6 separate regions of the Homo sapiens genome follow, and all the other regions are linked to region 1. Evidence: promoter capture Hi-C in 16 types of primary human blood cells and fetal thymus (Javierre and others, 2016). All regions are on one chromosome and are shown on one strand. Each heading gives the region's core, a stretch centred on a gene start or on the middle of the fragment in contact. The rest is flanking DNA. Distances are from core to core; before and after follow the strand shown. Region 1 holds the start of TENT5C-DT (TENT5C divergent transcript). Region 2 has its middle 29 kb from the start of CD2. Region 3 holds the start of CD2 (CD2 molecule). Region 4 has its middle 19 kb from the start of CD2. Region 5 overlaps CD101-AS1 (CD101 antisense RNA 1). Region 6 overlaps TTF2 (transcription termination factor 2).

The links. The method cuts DNA at HindIII sites, captures the fragments that hold promoters and counts their contacts. A CHiCAGO score of 5 or more calls a contact.
Region 2: a contact is called between a fragment that was not itself captured here and the fragment with the promoter of TENT5C-DT in region 1, in 1 of 17 cell types (non-activated CD4 T cells). The highest score is 5.5, in non-activated CD4 T cells.
Region 3: a contact is called between the fragment with the promoter of CD2 here and the fragment with the promoter of TENT5C-DT in region 1, in 1 of 17 cell types (non-activated CD4 T cells). The highest score is 5.4, in non-activated CD4 T cells.
Region 4: a contact is called between a fragment that was not itself captured here and the fragment with the promoter of TENT5C-DT in region 1, in 1 of 17 cell types (total CD4 T cells). The highest score is 5.7, in total CD4 T cells.
Region 5: a fragment that was not itself captured here is called in contact with the fragment with the promoter of TENT5C-DT in region 1 in 4 of 17 cell types (neutrophils, naive B cells, naive CD4 T cells and 1 more); the score reaches 6.6 in neutrophils.
Region 6: a fragment that was not itself captured here is called in contact with the fragment with the promoter of TENT5C-DT in region 1 in 2 of 17 cell types (neutrophils and megakaryocytes); the score reaches 6.4 in neutrophils.

The regions. Positions count from the first base shown.
Region 1 is chr1:117,604,240-117,607,360 of GRCh38, reverse strand. TENT5C-DT (TENT5C divergent transcript) reads left to right here and starts at 1,591. Exons shown (of 3, transcript NR_121626.1): 1 at 1,591-1,715; 2 at 2,425-2,572. It overlaps TENT5C (terminal nucleotidyltransferase 5C), which reads right to left and starts at 1,313. Exons shown (of 2, transcript NM_017709.4): 1 at 1,208-1,313. RefSeq lists a silencer at 1,248-1,587 and enhancers at 1,498-1,998, 1,999-2,499. The HindIII fragment of the contact is 6,964 bases long and covers 1-3,121 here.
Region 2 is chr1:116,723,628-116,726,748 of GRCh38, reverse strand. No RefSeq gene overlaps it. Among named protein-coding and RNA genes, the nearest start is that of CD2, 29 kb to the left of the region's middle. The HindIII fragment of the contact is 2,746 bases long and covers 128-2,873 here.
Region 3 is chr1:116,752,832-116,755,952 of GRCh38, reverse strand. CD2 (CD2 molecule) reads right to left here and starts at 1,523. Exons shown (of 5, transcript NM_001767.5): 1 at 1,400-1,523; 2 at 1,002-1,322. The coding sequence starts at 1,460. RefSeq lists promoters at 1,406-1,848, 1,406-3,121, a cis regulatory region at 2,907-2,936 and a silencer at 2,770-3,121. The HindIII fragment of the contact is 7,255 bases long and covers 1-3,121 here.
Region 4 is chr1:116,771,929-116,775,049 of GRCh38, reverse strand. No RefSeq gene overlaps it. Among named protein-coding and RNA genes, the nearest start is that of CD2, 19 kb to the right of the region's middle. The HindIII fragment of the contact is 2,071 bases long and covers 534-2,604 here.
Region 5 is chr1:117,053,132-117,056,252 of GRCh38, reverse strand. The region is part of intron 1 of CD101-AS1 (CD101 antisense RNA 1); the gene reads left to right. Among named protein-coding and RNA genes, the nearest start is that of CD101-AS1, 4.8 kb to the left of the region's middle. The HindIII fragment of the contact is 6,290 bases long and covers 1-3,121 here.
Region 6 is chr1:117,072,521-117,075,641 of GRCh38, reverse strand. It overlaps TTF2 (transcription termination factor 2), which reads right to left. Exons shown (of 23, transcript NM_003594.4): 4 at 1,915-1,981; 5 at 1-772. Among named protein-coding and RNA genes, the nearest start is that of TTF2, 14 kb to the right of the region's middle. The HindIII fragment of the contact is 827 bases long and covers 1,218-2,044 here.

The DNA of each region.
Region 1 (3,121 bases), core at 342-2,841:
AAAAAGGAAGCAGGCCCCTACTTAATTAAGCCAGGGAACTGGTTAGAGCCCTACAAAAGCCTACCTATGGACAAAAAAGGGCGAAGGGGAAGGGAGCTGACACTATCCCTCCCGCAGGGTCCAGCCCTAATAGTGGGTTCTCCAGAAGCTCGCCAGGCATTCATTTCTCCAGGGGAGCGCCCTTACTTGGAGGTAGCGCTGCTTGGTTTTCTCGCCCGCCAGCGTTGAGTTCAGGTGTGCAGGCTACCAACCTGTATTCTTCAGGTAAGTCACCCTCCTCTGACTCGCCTCCCACCCTGCTCCCTCCTGCCTCGCGACCAGTGCGAAGGGAGTCCCCGAACTGCGACACCTCCCGGGGCAGCCGCACCGGTATCCGTCCGAGTCGACCCACTTGCCGTGGCTTTTCACCTACGCAGTAAAGCAAGTTTCATTTTCAAAAGGAGAGGAAGCAGGTTTCACAGACACCGCATTCCCAAGAAGTTTCTGAGAGACGCGCAGCGCACAAGTCACTGGCTTGGATCCCTTTGCTGCTCATGGTGTCCACAGTCTGATGTGAGCGCATTAAATTTAAGGATCTCCGCCCTTCTCCTTAAAACTCAGGACTTGGCAATGAGCCTAGGAAGCGCCCCTCCCCTCCCCAACCAGATCCAAGCCCCGGACCGCTGCGTCTCCAGCTGCGCCTAGTGAAACCGCCGAATTCGAATTCACACTCGGCGGGCCGGCGAAGGTGTGCGCGCCCGCGGGAGCGCCGGGGCGAGCCCGAGGGACTGCAAGCCAGGAAGGGAGGCATGGGTGGCGGGGGGCGCCGTCTGATCCAGGTAGGAGCGGAGGCGCCGATCACACACTCTTCAGACGCCCTGCCCGCGCCTGGCCAGCGCGCAGCCTGCAGGACGCGCGGAGCAGGAACTCGCTGGAGTTTGCCAAGCCCCAGGTCTCTGGAAAGTTGTAGCTCCCTTTCGGAGCGTCTCTTCTGGCCCTTTGGGACGGGTGTGTCAGGGGCGGGGGTCCTCGAGGGAGCAGGAGGGGAAAGGAGCACCGGGTCTCGGCACCTGTCCGCAGCTCCCCTCGGGTCCGCCTGCCCCCTACCAGGCTGGGCAAAGACCTGAGCACCACTTAGTGGGGGCGGACCCCCACTAAGTGAGCTCGCGGCTCCCTGGGGCTGCTGCCGCATCGCCGCACCTTTAGAGGAGGGGGGTCGCGGACTCACCTGGGCAATAGAAGAGGAGGCGACAGAGGCAGGTCCTTGGCGTGGGCAGGCCCCAGCAGGAGCGGCGCGACCTCTACAGCCCCTAGGCAGCGGCACCGAGTGAGCCGTCCCGCCGCCGCCCCCTCCGTTCTTATACGGCGGGACCACGCCCCCGTCCCCGCCCCTGAGCCGCCCTCCCGGGGGAGCCAGGGGCGGGGCGTGGCGGAGCCAGTCCCCTCGGGACCCTTCCGCCCGGCCCTGACGGCAGGGGCGGGGCGAGGGCTGCCCTCTGATTGGCTCTTCGGGTGAATGGTTGCCAAGAGACGAGTAAATCCTCAGCGGCGGGAAGGGGCGGGGTGCTCAGGGAGGCAGCACTGCGCAAGCGCAATAGAGGGGGCTGCGTCGACACCCACTTAACTTCGGAGTTAGTGGGACACCTTTCTTTTTGCTTAGTACGCTTTTCTGCTATTCCTGCCGCATAACTCTCTCTTCCCCAGGCTTTTCCCATCTCCATCCTATTCTCTCGCAGGCAGGTTTTTCTTCCGCCTCTCTGGGGATTTTCGCGTTGGTTCTCCCTGCCCCCAGGAGTGAGGCGGGTAACGCCCACGCCTACCTCCGGTGTGTGTTTTTGAAGTCGGAAAAAACTTAATGGTTTCTGGGCCCTGGGCACCTTTCTGATTCCCCAAGCAAACTGGCTGGAGGCGAAGGCGTGGTCTTCGGGGAGAGAGCGCCGGCGGCTCTCTGGCCCCGGGGACCACCTGTGTGCAGTTAGTGGGACGAAGGGCCTCGGGGAGTCCATCGCCAATGTCGGCAGCCGCAGCCGCTTCGGCCCCATTCGGAATGCCACAGCACTTGGTCCAGTGTGTTATATAACATGCAGGCAGGGCTTGGACACCATCCATTCATAACATAGCGAGTGGTTTACAGCCCAGGTTCTGAATTCAGACTAATCTGAGTTGAGATCTCCATGCACCACTTAAACTTTCTGTAAGGCCTTAGGCAAGTAACTGAACCAACCCTCCAACAACCTGCGTCTCCTATCTGTAGGACAAGACTAACAATGGGACAGCTCTGTAGAATTATATAAGTATTAAGAAAATACGTGGGAAACAATTAGTGCATTGCCTAGTGCCTGTTAGAAAGTGTGTGGCAAATGCTGTATGTATCAGATAGTAGCCAATGTTGGACAATGTTATTTATCAATAGACATTATTGTACTTGTATTGATCGTTTACTAGGTGCTGGGGGAAAAGATTACTTCCCAGATGCAGTATTTACATCTCCTCCGCCCTACTCTTCCAACCCTGCCTGAAATAAGTGTGGTTCTCCTGTCTGTCAGACTATGAAGAGTTCTCAAATATGTCTTTCCCAGCGAGGGAGAGGAGAGTGAGTATCCAGGAACTTTAATGCGATAGGACATCAATATGAGTGTTTATAGGGAAAGCCAGTGATCCTATTGTTAGACGCGAAATCAAGACATATGATCTGATTTTTTGTTTTACTTTTTGTTTTTGAGGTATAACATTCAGTAAAGCGCACAAATCAAAAGTGTCCAGAATGATAATTTTTTACATATGCATACCCATGTAACTGCCATCCATATCAAGATGTGGAACCTTTCCAGCTCATTCATGCCCCTTCCCATTCAGTATCCGACAAGGATTACCACTATTTTAACCTCTATCACCATAGATTAGTTTTACCAATATTTGAACTTGCTATGGATGAAATACATAACACGTACAATTTTATGTCTGGCTTCTCTTGCCCAACAGTGCGTCTATGAGATTCATCCATATTGTTGTGTGTAACAATGGTCCATTCTTTTTCACTACTGTGTATTACTTCATTATATAAATATTCAACGATTTGTGTACTCATCCTACTGTTGGTGGACATTTGAGTTGCTTCATGTTTCTGCCTTTGATGAAGCTG
Region 2 (3,121 bases), core at 251-2,750, 880 kb after region 1:
GATTCATGCCTCTAGAACCGTGTCTTGTCTGGGCTGACTTTCTCATCTGCAGAGGTGAACATGTGCAGCGTTCATGGCCATCTTGCTGTGTCCCTGCTTTTATCACTATGCTTGAGTTCTTGAAGCTTAAGTTACATCCCTTCTGTTTTCATTATCATTTAAATATCTCTTTCTGAATATCCTAACCTGCTCGTTTCCATGTTATTTGGATCCTTTTTGTTTCCCCAAGAATCACCCATCTCTCCTACCTGACTCTGAGTTCCACAGGCCAGGAGTAGTGCATGAATGAATGGCTAATGACCCTCATTGAGAAATTCTTTCTATAGCCTGACACATGGAGCAATTCACTTCAACTCTCTGAGATTCCATTTTCTCATCTGTAATATTAGGATATACAATGATATCAGTGGTTTCCAGGAGGCTGGGGTACCTTCTCCTTGGGGGTCTACAATGATAGCAATGGAGCAATGTTTTTAAAAGCTCAAAAGAAAGTGCATGTGTTGCCAGTTAAGGCTATGTTGCCTAATATGAACACTGTCTCTTGCTCTGGTTGAATGATGTCAACTCTGCAGGTATCATAGATAAAATCATGTTGCTTAGCATGTGTATCCATCAAGATTCTTGGCTGCATGCAATAGAAACCAAGTCTAGTTGACTTAAGCAGAAAATAATTGCTTTGGGAAAATGTCTGCCAGCTCCAGAGCAAATGAAAAGACAGGAAGACCAGACTCTGGATATGCGCAGTAGCCAGGAAAAGCTGAGCAATGAAGAGCTCAGCCAAGGTCACACCACAGAAGCGGCATGGTTGGGATACCACTGGACACCAGACACCGACCCACTGGAACCACCAGGACATGGGATGTCACTGCCCAGTGGACTGCATTCCAAACCATGGTTGCTGCTTTGTGTTACTTGCTCCAGATGCAAAGTCCCAGGTGAGACCATCCAGTTGGCAAATTTTTTTTTTTTTTTTTTTTTTTTGAGACAGAGTTTTGCTCTTGTTGTGCAGGCTGGAGTGCAATGGCACGATCTCGGCTCACCGCAACCTCTGCCTCCCGGGTTTGAGTGATTCTCCTGCCTCAGCCTCCCGAGTAGCTGGGATTACAGGCATGCACCACCATGCCCGGCTAATTTTTTGTATTTTTAGTAGACACCGGGTTTCACTATGTTGCCCAGGCTGGTCTCAAATGCCTGACCTCGTGATCCACCCACCTTGGCCTCCCAAAGGGCTGGTATTACAGGCGTGAGCCACCGTGCCCGGCAGAGTTGGTAAATCTTAAGCCTTGTGTGCCCTTGTCCAGCTGCTGAAGGACAGGGACAACAAGTATTAGGCCATCAGAGGCTCTATTTTATTAGGAGAATTCCCCAAATATAAGAAGGAGATCAGCTGCTGGACAGCCCACAAAACGAAACAAAGCAAAATCCACTATGGTTGCTAAATGTTTATTTTTTGTTTATTTATTGATATATTTTTTTGAGACAGGGTCTTACTCTATTGCTTAGGCTGCGGTGCAGTGGTGCAATCATAGCTCACTGTAACCTCAAACTCCTGGGTCAAGCAATCCTCCTGACTCGGTCTCCCAAGTAGCTAGGATTAGGACCATAGGCATGCATCACCACACCCAGGTTATTAAATGTTTTTTATGACCAAAAACACCAACAAAACTTAACTGACGGTAGAAACACAATATTTTGGAACACGAGATCAATGGAAGAAAAAAATAATGAACAGGTTTAACGATTAAAAAAAAAAAGACTGACTGGAACAGGTATCTCTAATGTTGTTCACAGACTTAGACGCCCCCTGCAGGCAGGATGAAGGAATAAAGACTGGACTGATTTTCTCAAGCCCTTTCTTTCATTGACTATATGCCATAATAACCTGGACTTGTAGAATTAATCACTGCTTAGAAATAACTAGCTCATAGCTGCTACACATAAGAGAAAACAAAAGTAATAAACATGGTATGGAGGTCCTATGGTTTGAATGTGTCCCACAAAGTTCATGTGTTAGAAACTTAATCCCCAAACCAACATTATTGGGAGGTGGGACCTTTAAGAGGCTCTGCCCTCGTGAATAGATTAATGCTTTTCTCGCAGAAGCGTGTTCCTGGATAAAAGGATAAGTTTGGACTGCTTCCTGGTCTCTCTCGTGTCCATGCTTTCTTGCCCTTCCACCTTCCACCATGGGATGTCACGGCAAGAAGCCTTTCACCAGATGAAGGCCCCTGTACCTTGTACTTCCCAGGCTTTAGAACTGCAAGAAATAAATCTCTGTTCTTTATAAATTACCCAGTCTCAGGTATTCTGTTATAGCAGTACAAAACAGACCAAAACAAGTGGTTTCTTTTATATAAAAGAAATCTGAAGGCGGGCAGGCCCAGGTTGGTACCGTGATTTCATGGTGTCCATGAACCCAGGCCTCTTTTGTTTTTGCTCTGCCATCATTAGTAGTACAGGGCTCCCATCCTCAAAGACACTTCCTTAAGGCTGCTGGAGCTCCAGCCATCATGTCTGAATTCCACATAGGAAGTAGGAGGAAAGGTGAAGGGACAAAAGACAAGAGAGAAGATATAAACTGTCTGACCCCTCTTAAGACTTCCTGAAAGTCCTGAAATGTACATTTAGATTTAACAATGTCTGCTTGCATCTTATTGACCACCCTTAACTGTAAGATAGCCTGGGAGTTGCGGTCTTTTATTAGGGCACATGGTCACTCAAACATTGTGTGAGCAACTAGCAGTCTTCACTTCCCCAGGGAAGTCTCAAAAGTAGTGAGAAGTTTGGTTTAGAGGCCTTTGACTCTCCCTCTGCTCCAACTTTGTCCTCCCCTGAGTCAACTTTATGTGATATCACTTAGGACAAGGGAAGCTTCCAGGGAAGACACCAGCACTGAGGTCTTAGGACCACCTCTCTGCAATGTCTAGAGAGTGGTATGAGCCCTTTGAGGAGCTTCCTAGGAAATAACCAAACACTGAACATTTATTGAGCATTAACCTTCTGCCAGGCACTGTGTGAAGTGCTTTATCTCCACCCTGTTACCCCATCCTCACAACTGCTCCTCGAGGTAGGCACAATTGTGCCCATCCTGAAAATGAGGGAGCCAAGGATACGTGGCCAT
Region 3 (3,121 bases), core at 274-2,773, 850 kb after region 1:
GGCTGGCCTGTGCTCATGCTGGGGTTCCTGTCTGCCTCCCCAAGTCAAGCGCAGCTTCTTCTTTTCCCTTCTTGTCACTACTTCCCCAGCATCCCCCCGGGCTTTCAACTTCAATGGCATTTCGATTCCACTTTCTCTACCTTCTCTCCCTTGCCTAAGCCACCTTTCTCTATGCCTGACCCTTATTATCCTCATTCTTCCTATTTTAGAGGCACCCTTTGGTCTAGGCCAGTGGCGATTGACTTTGGCAGCTCATTAGAATCCCCCAGGGAGCTTTAGAACCTAATGATACCCAGGCCGCATGCAAAAAAAATCTGATTTAATTGGTCCTCACTCCACTTGGATTACAGCAGCAGCTTTCTAACTAGTCTCCCTAACCCCATCCTCAATATCCACTCCTGTCCTCCCAGTACAGGCAGAGATATACAAAGCCACACCTTGTGCATCTTCTACACATATCAGCAAAAATCACCTGCCACCTTGTATCACTCTGACAAGCAGATCCAAAATAAGGGCTGTTCATCCTTAAATATGTTGTTTCCAGCCCTTTTCTGCCATATAACTCCTCCTTCAGGGCAGCCTGGCTTGAAATGGGCTCTGTCGATGAAAGGCCCGCTGCTCTCCAGTCAGCCTCTTCTTCTCGCCCCACTCTTAGCTCGCCGATTCATCAGCAACCTGGAACAGTTGCCTTTTCCCTCGGCCTACCTGTGTCCCCCTCCCGATTAATGCCACCTTAATCCAGGTTCTTCACCCAACCCCACATTCCTGTAACCACCTGAAGACAGAGTTGTAGGCAGGTAGACTTGAGGGTCTATCAGATGTGTGGATCCCATTCCCGCATTGGACCACAGTCTCCACTGGGGCAGGAGACATGCATCTGGTTTCCTGTATAGCCCCCCTGGAGGCAGAGGTCAGCGCTGGGGAATATTAGAAATGCTATTTTCCAACTTGCCAAATAGCACCCACACTGAAATAAAGCAATTAAGGGAATGAACACTTACCTTGAATCTTCAAATCAAATATTTTTTCCAACACATTTTTTCCTTTTGTATCATATATTGATACCTTGTAGATATCCTGATCATCGGTCTTCAGATGCTTAATTTTCAGAGTTCCATTTTTAAATAGCTTATATGTATCTTTTTCCTTGAAAGTCTCTTTCTCTTTTCTGAATTGTGCAATCTTTTTCTTGTCTGAAGTTTTTTCCCATTTTATATCGTCAATATCATCACTCATTTGAAAACTAGGAATGTCCAAGTTGATGTCCTGACCCAAGGCACCCCAGGTTTCCAAGGCATTCGTAATCTCTTTGGAGACTGCACCTATAAAAAGCAAAAGAGTTACTGAGAGTCACTTTCAGGGAAAGCTGGGTTGGGACTTCTTTGACTCTTATGCTTACCTTTGGAAGAAACATTGAAAATCAGAAGGAAGCTGGCTACAAATTTACATGGAAAGCTCATCTTAGGGGTTGGTTTCCTCTTTTGATTCTGAGCTCTTCATGCAAAAGGAACTGAAGTGAGACTGGTGGAGTCCACACCCCGAGAGCTTAACCACGTGCCTCTCTTTACATCTTTTACAGTAACATAAAACATAATACACATACACAGAGAGCAAGAGCGCGCACAAGCCAGCCCTTCTGATGTGCTCCTTTGCCAAAGCAGATGTGTTTATGAGTGTGTGTTTTCTTGCTGCATTTTAATTCTCACACAAAAAAATTGGGAAGGATAGGTTTTCTCATCTCAGTGAAAGAGAAAAGGAACAGAGAGGCTAAGTAGATCACTAAGGATCACTCTTTTGTAAACAAGAAGCCAAATTCAACCACACAGCCTTTTATCCACTTAGGTATACTGTCCCTAACAAGACCACATAGAAATATAGGTAAATGTTCACAAGCCAATAGCAGAATGCAAACATTTATCCCATATGATTATATTGAAAAATGTAGACCCATAAAATGATGAGGAAATTGATTTTTTTGTTTCTCCAAAGATATTTTTCATGTTCTAAAATCGTTTTTGTGGTGAAAAGAAAGAAATTGAATATCAGCTGTAAATGCTTGCAATCCCCAAATCCTATGTTCGGCATACATTTTACAACTCTAGTGAAATTCACAGTTAGATAAATAAAAACTTATTCCAAAACAAAGAAGCATAGAGACTATGAAATATAATTAAACTACCAAAACAAAGGAGTCAAAAGCATTTAAAGTGATTAACATTATAGGTGGTTAAGAAAAAGGAGAGATTAGGAGAAAAAATAAATGAGAGGGAACAGGGAGAGAAAAAAAGAACAGAAATTTGTGACACAAGGAAACAGACAGTGATGCAGAGACGGGTGTGCCCTGAAAAGATGCCTAAAAAGAGAAATAACCATGACAGACTTCCAAAGCACATTTTCAGGGTTATAATTCTTTAGGTCACAGTGAGTAAAAATTGCAAAAGTGGTGCTCGTTTTCTTTTTCAACTTTAAGTACAAATATGGATATTATCTGTCAGAAAGTTGCCAAGGAAATGAAATTAAGTCAAAGCAGTTGTTTGCTGTTACTGGGTAAAAGAAAGCCAAATATTTACCTCATGGTTGTATGAGCGTCATCCACAATAATGAACTACAGTTGGATTAAAGTTTTAAATGCAAAAATACTATAATAATGCTAAAAGGAGGCCGGGGGTGGTGGATCACAGCTATAATCCCAGCACTCTGGGAGGTCGAGGCGGACCTCCTCACCTGAGGTCAGGAGTTCAAGACCAGCCTGGCCAACATGGTGAAACCCATCTCTACTAAAAATACAAAAATTAGCCAGGTGTGGTGATGTGCGCCTGTAATCCCAGCTACTCAGGAGGCTGAGGCAGGCAAATTGCTTGAATCTGGGAAGCGGAGGTTGCAGTGAGCCAGGATTGTGCCACTGCACTCCAGCCTGGGGAGCAGAGTGAGACTCTGTCTCAAAATAAATAACTAAATAAATAAAATAATAACAATAATGCTAAAAGGACAATATAGAAAGATATTCCTATAGTTTGAGTATGGAAGGCCTGGCTACATATAACATATAATCCAAAGTAAGAAAGAAAAGATGAACACAACTGATGATATAAAGAAGTAAGATTTACATGCAGATGAAGAA
Region 4 (3,121 bases), core at 320-2,819, 830 kb after region 1:
TAGGCTCGTTTCCTGTAGCCACGGGGTGACCTCTCTGGACCGAAGCAGTGCCTGCACGGTGGGGTTTCCTTTACCTTTTCTGTAAGTTATGCCAAAACATCCACTTAAGTTCTTTGATTTGTACTATTCCTTAAAATAAATAAATTTAGTATCCAGGCCACCAAATTTAGGTCTGTAATTAATTTGAGTTGATTTTTATGAAGGCTGTTAAATCTGTGTCTAGATTCATTTTTCTCTTTGTGTATGTGGATGTCAAGTTGTTCCAGCATTATTTGTTGAAGAGACCATTCTTTCTCCATTGTTTGGCTTTTGCTCCTTTGTCAAATCAGGGGTGTCCAATCCTTTGGCTTCCCTGGGCCACACTGGAAGAAGAAGAATGGGGTCACACATAAAATACACTAACACTAACAACAGTTGATGAGTACAGAAAAAAAATCTCATAATGTTTTAAGAAAGTTGGCAAATTTGTGTCGGGCCACATTCAAAGCCATCCTGAGCTGCATGGTGCCCGCGGGCTGAGGGTTGGACAAGCTTGGACAAGACGATGAAATTTATATGGGTTTCTCTGGCTCTCTATTCTGTTCCATTTGATCTATTTGTCTCTTCTTTCACCAATACCATACTATTTTGATTACTGTAGCTTTATAGTACATCTTGAAGTGGGGCAGTTTGGTTCTCCAATTTTGTTCTCCTTCAATATTATATTGGCTATTCTGGGACTTCTGCCTCTCTATATAAACTTGAGAATCACTTTAATATCCACAAAATAGTTCGCAGGGATTTTTTTTTTTTTTTTTTGAGATGGAGTCTCACTCTGTCTCCCAGGCTGGAGTGCAGTGGCACAATCTTGGCTCACTGCAGTATCCACTTCCCAGGTTCCAGCGATTCTCCTGCCTCAGCCTCCCAAGTAGCTGGGATTACAGGTGCACACCACCATGCCCGGCTAATTTTTGTACTTTTTGTAGAGACGGGGTTTCACCATGTTGGCCAGGCTGCTCTCAAACTCGTAACCTCAAGTGATCTGCCCACCTCAGCCTCCCAAAATGCTGGAATTACAGGCAAGAGCCACCAAACCCAGCCCAATTTGCTGAGATTTTGACCAGGATTACACGGAATCTACAGATTGAGTTGGGAAGAATTAATATCTTGGCAACATTGAGTCTTCCTATCCATGAACATAAAATAGCTCTCCATTTATTTGGTTCTTCCTTTATTTTGTTCATTAGAGTTTTGTAGTTTTCTTCATGTAAATCTATACCTAAGTATTTCATTTTTTGAGTGCTAATGTAAATGGTATTATGTCTTTAATTTCAAATTGCACTTGTTCATTGTTGGTATACGGGAAACTGATGGACTTTTTAATATTAACCTTGTAAGAATTATTTAATACAACCTTGCTATTAATATAATCCCTTATTAGTTCCAGTATTATTTTGTTGTTGATTCTTTCAGATTTTCTACACAAACGATCATGTCATCTACAAAGATAGTTTTATTTATTTCTTCCCAACCTGCATACATTTTATTTCCTTTTCTTGTATTATTGCACTAGCTAAGACTTCTAATATGATGTTGAGAAACAGTGGTGAGAGGAAACATCCTGATTCCTGATCTTACTGGAAAGTTTAGAGTTTCTCATTGTTAAGTAAAATGTTAGGTGCATGTCTTTTTTGTAGATTTTTTTTTAATCAAGTTGAGGAAGTTTCCCTCTCTTCCCAGTTACCAAAAGTTTTTTTGATAAACAGGTGTTGATAAACAGGAGTCAAATTCTTTTTTTGTATCTACTTATAGGATCATGTGATTTTTCTTCATTAGCTTGTGGATATGATAGATTATACTAATTGATTTACAAATGTTGAACCAGCTTTGCATACCTGAGATTAATCCCACTTGGTTGTAATGTATAGTCCTTTTTATACATTGTCAGTCAAATTTGATTTGTTAATATTTTTTGAAAAATTTTGCATCTGTATCTGTGAGAGTTGTTGGCCTGTAGTTTCTTTTTTGTAATGTCATTGTCTGGTAGGCAATTAAAAAGATCAGAATTTTCCCTTGTTTCCTCATCCTTTTGTTCTGTGTTGCTATAAATAAACCAGAAAGATGCCATGTACTTAAGTAATGTCCTGGCATTTTTTCTTCAGGAAAACCCTGCTTATGAAGCCAGGGAAGTGACAGAAGGCTGGTGACTCAATCTAGGATTTGCGAGGTGGCCTCACAGGTCTGTTCTTTAGCTTTAAATACCTCTGGTGTAGGATTTTATCATCCATTTGTTCCATGTGAGGCAACATTATGAAACTGACTCAGATGAATCAAACTCATAGCAGACTAAGTCACCTTACAGAGTGCTTATTTATCAATTTATAATGAGCTGTGTGTCTTTCCAATAACTAGCCCATTTATATGTGCCATCCAGGATATTCCTTCTTGAGTATCATGCCAGAAATAAAGCTCACAGTTTTCAGATGCATTCTGTACACAAGGATATATTTGTTACATTACATACATTATTTCCATTTAGTCCTCACTCTAACCTTGTGAGGTGTTATCCTCATTTAGCAGATGAGAAAATCAGTGTTTACAGAAGCTGAATAAATTACTCAAGCTTACAAATCCAGTGAGAGAGAGAGTCAGAACTTCCTGGCTTCGATACCTGTGAGTCTTCTACTACATTGAACTTCATGGGCACAGAACTGGACACAGAGATGGTCTCACACAAGATTCACGTTACAGTGGAGTTCAAGAGTTAGGAAAGGTCTCCCCCAGGAAATGACTTTCTGTCTGAACTCTGAAAGAAGAATGTGGACAGGTGAAGAGCCAGGTGAAAAGTGTGGGCAGTGGGAACAGCATGTATAATAGGAACAGCATGTACAGTGGTCCTGAGGTGGCAAACTTATTGGTGAACTTGAGTCACCAAGTCACTGCAACCCACTGAGCATGGGTAAGGAGCCTAACATTAGAAAATTAGCAAAGGAAAAGGAGCAGGAGGACTGAGATGAAATTTCCCAGTTTACAGTTGAGACCCTTTTGGAGCTAAGCTGGTCCAGCTGCTAGTATTAGACTATTATTTAGGGTGGGCAGATAGGCTATCAGAAACCTCTAAATTTTCTGTCTTCATATAAAC
Region 5 (3,121 bases), core at 309-2,808, 550 kb after region 1:
ACAACTAGCCTAGGGATGGGATTTTTTATCCCCATTTTTAAGATGAAGATACTAAAGTTTAGAGCAGTTAAGGAGGTGGCCCCAAGGCCAACTTACCTTACAGAGCTGCTCCTAAAACTTTGGAACCGGATAGTCCCCATGGATTAATTTTGACCTGGCTCAAAGTCACAAAGCTGACAGCAGCCAATCAGGGACTAAAGGCCATTTTTCAGAACTTTCAATCCAGTTCTTGCCACTATAGTATTTTTTCTTCTTCTTCTTCTTCTTTTTTTTTTTGAGACGGAGTCTCGCTCTGTCGCCCAGGCTGGAGTGCAGTGGCGTGATCTCGGCTCACTGCAACCTCCACTTCCCAGGTTTAAGCAATTCTCCTGCCTCAGCCTCCCAAGTAGCTGGGATTACAGGCACCCACCACCACGCCCAGCAATTTTGTGTATTTTTAGTAGAGATGGGGTTTCGCCATGTTGGCCAGGCTGGTCTCGAACTCCTGAGACCTCAGGTGATCCACCTGCCTCGGCCTCCCAAAGTGCTGGGATTACAGGCCTGAGCCACTGCGCCCAGCCTATAGTATTTTTATAAAGCATAAATTATTCAGCAATGCATTCAGATATTTAACCCACACATCGGTAAGTGTTTAGGTATTTGCTGTGGTGTAGAGACATGGCTCAACAAATCCAAGACAAAAACCAAAAACCCAAGTCCTGCCATTTTATAAATGACCACTAGGTAGCAGCCTAGTAACATAAAAACCAAACTGAGGCCCACCCTCCTCTGTTTCATTCTTTTTGTTTGAAGATATATAATGGTAATTCAATTTCATTTCATTTCATTTTGTGCCTTTCAAACATATGACTGTTTTCAACTTGTCCTTTGACATAGGCTCGATCAGGATGATACTATAGTGAGAACAAATGTGGTTATAATTTGTAAAGCCAAGAGACTTTACAAATTATTTTGTTATACCAATATTTTTTCAGTACTAGATTCCAAATTTCACTGTTCTTAAAATATTATTCCAAAAGTGGTTCAATGCAGGCTCTTTATCTTCTTCTTTTTTTTTTTTTTTTTTTTTGGTAAATGTACAGGTATTTTTTTCAGTTGGAGTCTTGTCTGTTACCCAGGCTGGAGTGGAGTGCAATGGTAGGATCTTGGCTCACTGCAACCTCCGCCTCCTGGGTTCAAGTGATTCTCCTGCCTCAGCCTCCTGAGTAGCTGGGATTATAGGCTTGTGCCACCACGCTCAGCTAATTTTTGTATTTTTAGTAGAGATGGGGTTTCACCATGTTGTCCAGGCTGGTCTTGAACTCCTGAACTCAGGTGATCCACTCGCCTCGACCCCCCAAAGTGCTGGGATTACAGGCTTGAGCCATCGCGCCCGGCCACAATTCTTTTTTTTTTTTTTTTGAGACAGAGTCTCACTCTGTTGCCAGGCTGGAGTACAGTGGCATGATCTTGGCTCACTGTAACCTCTGCCTCCTGGGTTCAAGTGACTCTCCTGCCTCAGCCTCCCGAGTAGCTGGGATTACAGGTGCCCGCCACCACGCCTGGCCAATTTTTGTATTTTTAGTAGAGATGGGGTTTCACCCTGTTGGCCAGGCTGGTCTCGAACTCCTGAACTCAGGTGATCCACCCGCCTCGGCCTCCCAAAGTGCTGGGATTACAGGCATGAGCCATCACACCTGGCCCACAATTCATTGTTTAAGTAAATTTATAAAGTTGTGCCATCACCACCAGAATCCAGTTTTAAAACATTTCTATCACTCAAAAACTTTCCTCAAAGCTGTGTGCAGTCAATCCCAACTGCCACCCCCAGCTAGTCCCAAGGCAACCTCTGATATGCTTTCTGTCTTTATAAGTTTGCCTTTTCTGGACATTTCATATAATGGAGTCATGTAATATGTAGTCTCTTGCCTCTGTCTTCTTTCACTTACATAATGCTTGTGAGGTTTACCCATGTTGCACATGTATCAGTATTTCACTCCTTTTTATTGCTGAGTAATATTCCATTGTGTTCATTCACCAGTTGGTGGACATTTGGATCATTTTCCCTTTGGAATTATTAGGAATAATATTGCTATGAACATTAATGTTAAAGTCTGTTTTATTGTTTTTGTTTTTGTTTTTTTGTTTTTTGTTGTTGTTGTTTTTGAGATGGAGTCTTGCTCTGTCACCCAAGCTGGAGTGCAGTGGCATGATCTTGGCTCACTGCAACCTCCAGCTCCCAGGTTCAAGCAATTCTCCTGCCTCAGCCTCCCGAGTAGCTGGGATTATAGGCTCGAGCCACCACGTAAGCTAATTTTTATATTTTTAGTAGGGACAGGGTTTCACCATGTTGGCCAAGCTGGTCTCAAACTCCTGACCTCAGGTAATCTATCTGCCTCAGCCTCCCTAAGTACTGGGATTACAGGCATGAGCCACCGCACCCGGCCTAACGTTAAAGTCTTTATATGAACATTTGTTCTCATTTCTCTTGGGCAGATAAACCTGTGAGTGGAATTGCTAGTTCATATGGTTAGTTTGTTTAACTTTTTAAGAAATTGCCAAACCACTTTCCAAAGTGGCTATACCATTTTATATTTCCACCAGCAACGTATGAGGGTTCCCAGTTCTTCATGTCCTCAACAATGCTTGTTATTGCGTGCCTTTTTTAGTAGGTATGAAGTGGTATCTGACTTTTGTTTGAATTTTGATTTTTCTATTGATGTGGCACTCTTTTTCGTGTGCTTTTTAGCCATCATCTTCCTCTTTTTAAATGGTCTTGAAAGTCTTTTTCCTTTAACGTTTGTATGGAACTTAAACCTAAGTTAAAATGACATTAATTGTTATTAATACAAAGACATAAAAAGACATAGTAATCATTTGTATAATGTTAAGTAACAAACATTATACAATGTACTATGTACTATGAGTATAGTCATGTCAATTTGTTTTTTTTTTTTTTTTTGGAGACAGGGTCTCACTCAGCCCCTCAGGCTGGAAGTGGTGCAGTCTCAGCTCACTGCAGCCTTGTTCTCCCAGGCTCCAGTGATCTTCCCATTCCAGCCTCCCGAGTAACTGGGACTACCAGAGCACACCACCACAGCTGGCTAATTTTTGTATTTTTTGTAGAGACAGGGTTTCACCA
Region 6 (3,121 bases), core at 382-2,881, 530 kb after region 1:
CGTCACTGCTTGTGGCAGCTTCACGGCCCTCACCCAGGGAAAGCCCTGGTGCTGCTGGTGCAGCCTGAGCCGCTGGTCCTCCAGGAGCAGGCACACTGTGGGTCTCCGGCCGCTCTTGGAAATGCCCCTGAGGCAGGCTTTTCTGGGTGGCCTGTATGCTAGGGCCATCCTTTGCCTTTGTTTCTTTAGCCTCCCAGTTCGTGTACTCCTTGTTGAGGGGTCCCCCTTTCTGGGGCTTGCTTATTGAGTTGTGACTGTGAACATTTTGAGGCAAAAGCTGGGTAACCTTTTCTCTCAGAGGTTCTGATTCTCTTTGGACATCTTGACTCTTACCACTTGATTTCTCCTGAGAAGATGCAGATGGTCTTGTAAGCTCATTACCTTGGCACTGTTGAGATTTAATTTCAGAAAAGTCTCTTTTGTGTGTGCCTCCAGTCTCTGCCTCACACTGAATCTCTGCTCCCTCTTCTTGCTTCTTCTCTTGAACTACAGATTGTTTTTTCTTTGGTACCAGGCCAGATGAGAGGTCTTTCTCCATCATTTCAGGCTTCTGTTCTTTCTTTTGATCGAAAAGCTGATCTCCCTTTTCTCTTTGCTTCTTATCAGCCTTCTTTTCCTCACCTTCACCTTTGATGAGCTGTTTCCAGAGAGCTGGTTCTTGATTCTTGTCAAGTACCTTGAATGGATTTCTCAGCCAGTTGGAAGAATGATGAAATGTCTCAGATGCATGCTGAGACTTATTGGATACAGAATGTTCTTTGGAATCAGGATCCTAAAGACAAAATAATTAATCTTCATATAAAATATTAATACAAACTTCGTATCTAGAATGCCTTTCCTTTTCATCTCAACTTTTATTTTATATACAGGGGGTACATATGCAGCTTTGTTATATGAGTATATTGCACTCAGGCAGTGAGCATAGTGCCCAATAGATAGTTTCTTAACCCATGCCCTCCTCCCCTCTCCAGTAGTTCACAGTATCTATTGTTCCCATGTTTATGGGTGCTCAATGTTTAGCTCCTGCTCGTGAGAACATATGATATTTGGTTTTCTGTTCCTGCATTAATTCACTTAGGATTATTCTGCAGAAGAAATGGAAACACAGTAAAAGCAGTCCAATATTTCCTGAACATTCTTGGTACCATTTCCACGTCTAGAAAAGATGACGTGCCAAACCCACAAAGGACTCATTTCTTCACGATACTTTCGAAGCTTGGTTCCTTCTCTGTCCATGATCACTCTTTTCCAGGCCTCAAGGAAAAGTAGTGACAAACCAAAGTGCTTTTACAATCACAATGGCCACAGTGTATACTTTTCAGGAAAAAAACTATTCTCTTAAGATGAACTTTTCCCCAAACCTAAACATTGTCTTAAAACACTTGCTTTGATTTTGGCTTTAGGAGGATTTTACTGTGGTAATCTAGAATCGTAAGTTCAAGCCACACCTCTGCCAAAACAAGTCTTATCACCTCCCTACTTCTAGTTCCTCACGTACTGAATATCTGTAGGGCTTCTCCTATTAGGAGATGCTCCTCCTAGTTCTAACATACTAGGAGCTTATGCTTATACTTAGCTTATACCAGTATCAAGTAGAAATTCCTCTATAAAAAGATACAAGAGTTAGTCAAGGAAATCTATTTTTTTCCTTGAGTAAAAGAATACTGACTACATTTAAGACCTCAAAAAATATTTACTAAGTGAAATAGGATGCAAATAATTAATCTTGATTACGACTAAATGATCCTTTGAATAAAAGTCCCAACAGGGCCTACCTTGCTTAAAGAAAACTATCTTTCGGAGACAGTCTGATGAAGACCAACTCATTTACGTGAACTTCAAGGTATTTTCAGGTGATGCTGCATATTAAAAGTCTTAACACAGCAGGTTTGAAAACAGATGAATAATTCCTACCTGCCATGGAATACTTCCACACCAGCGTTTCCCCTCTGCCTTACTTCTAATGCATCGGAAGAACAATCTAATGAAGTATAAAACACAAATAATCAAGGCTATGAAAATCCATTAGAACAAGAGATAAGCTTATTTTTAATCCAAGAAAACATCTTGCAACTATTTGAACCTGGCTTTGGGAGGTCACTTGAAACCAATTACTTTTATATACACATTTAAAAATTATTTACTGCACAGAACATTTATAAGGGCTAGGAAGTCCAAGAATAAATATGGCATGGTAGCCAGAGAATGCACACAGGTTTATTCTTTTTAGTCTGTAACGAATGACTGAAATAGAAACACTGATCAGCAATGGCTACTAAAATCAGAGAAATGAGAGACAGCCAGACACTGTGTGTCCCTGAAGGGGGGTCACAACACTAGCTACAAAGCAATGTTGCCCCAAAAAAAACCCCAAAACAACGAAGCCAAAACAAACAAAAAACTAACCTCTAGATCCAATTACCAATTTATAGGAAATAGAAACAACAGAAGAAGGCGTAAAACTATACTGTGGAGAATATAACCTTCAAAATCTTGGCAGTGGGAAACGCTATAGGACAAACAACCTGATCCCTTCCACAAATAAGTTACGAGGGAGAAAAAAAGATGAAGGGAAAACTTCAGAGACTTAAAAGACATATTAATCAATTCCAATTTGTGAACCTTATTTGGATCCTGATTTAAACAAATTAAAACTACTAAAAAAAAACTATGACATTTATGAGTCCACTGAAAATATGTAAACCAACTGGTATGTTAAAAGAGTGCAGCTGGATGCAGTGGCACACACCTATAGTCCCCTCTACTCAGGGGCCTGAGACAGGAGGATCATTTGAGGCCAGAGGCTGCAATGTGCTAAGATTGTGCCTGTGAATAGCCACTGCACTCAAACCTGGGCAACACAGCAAGACTCCCTTCTCTAAAACATACAAATATTTTTTAAAAAATAGTTCATATCTTGGCCGGGTGCGGTGGCTCACACCTGTAATCCCAGCACTTCGGGAGGCTGAGGTGGGCGGATCACGAGATCAAGAGATCGAGACCATCCTGGCCAACATGGTGAAATCCCGTCTCTACTAAAAATACAAAAATTAGCCCGGCGTGGTGGCACATGCCTGTAGTCCCAGCTACTCAGGAGGCTGAGGCAGGAGAATCGCTTGAA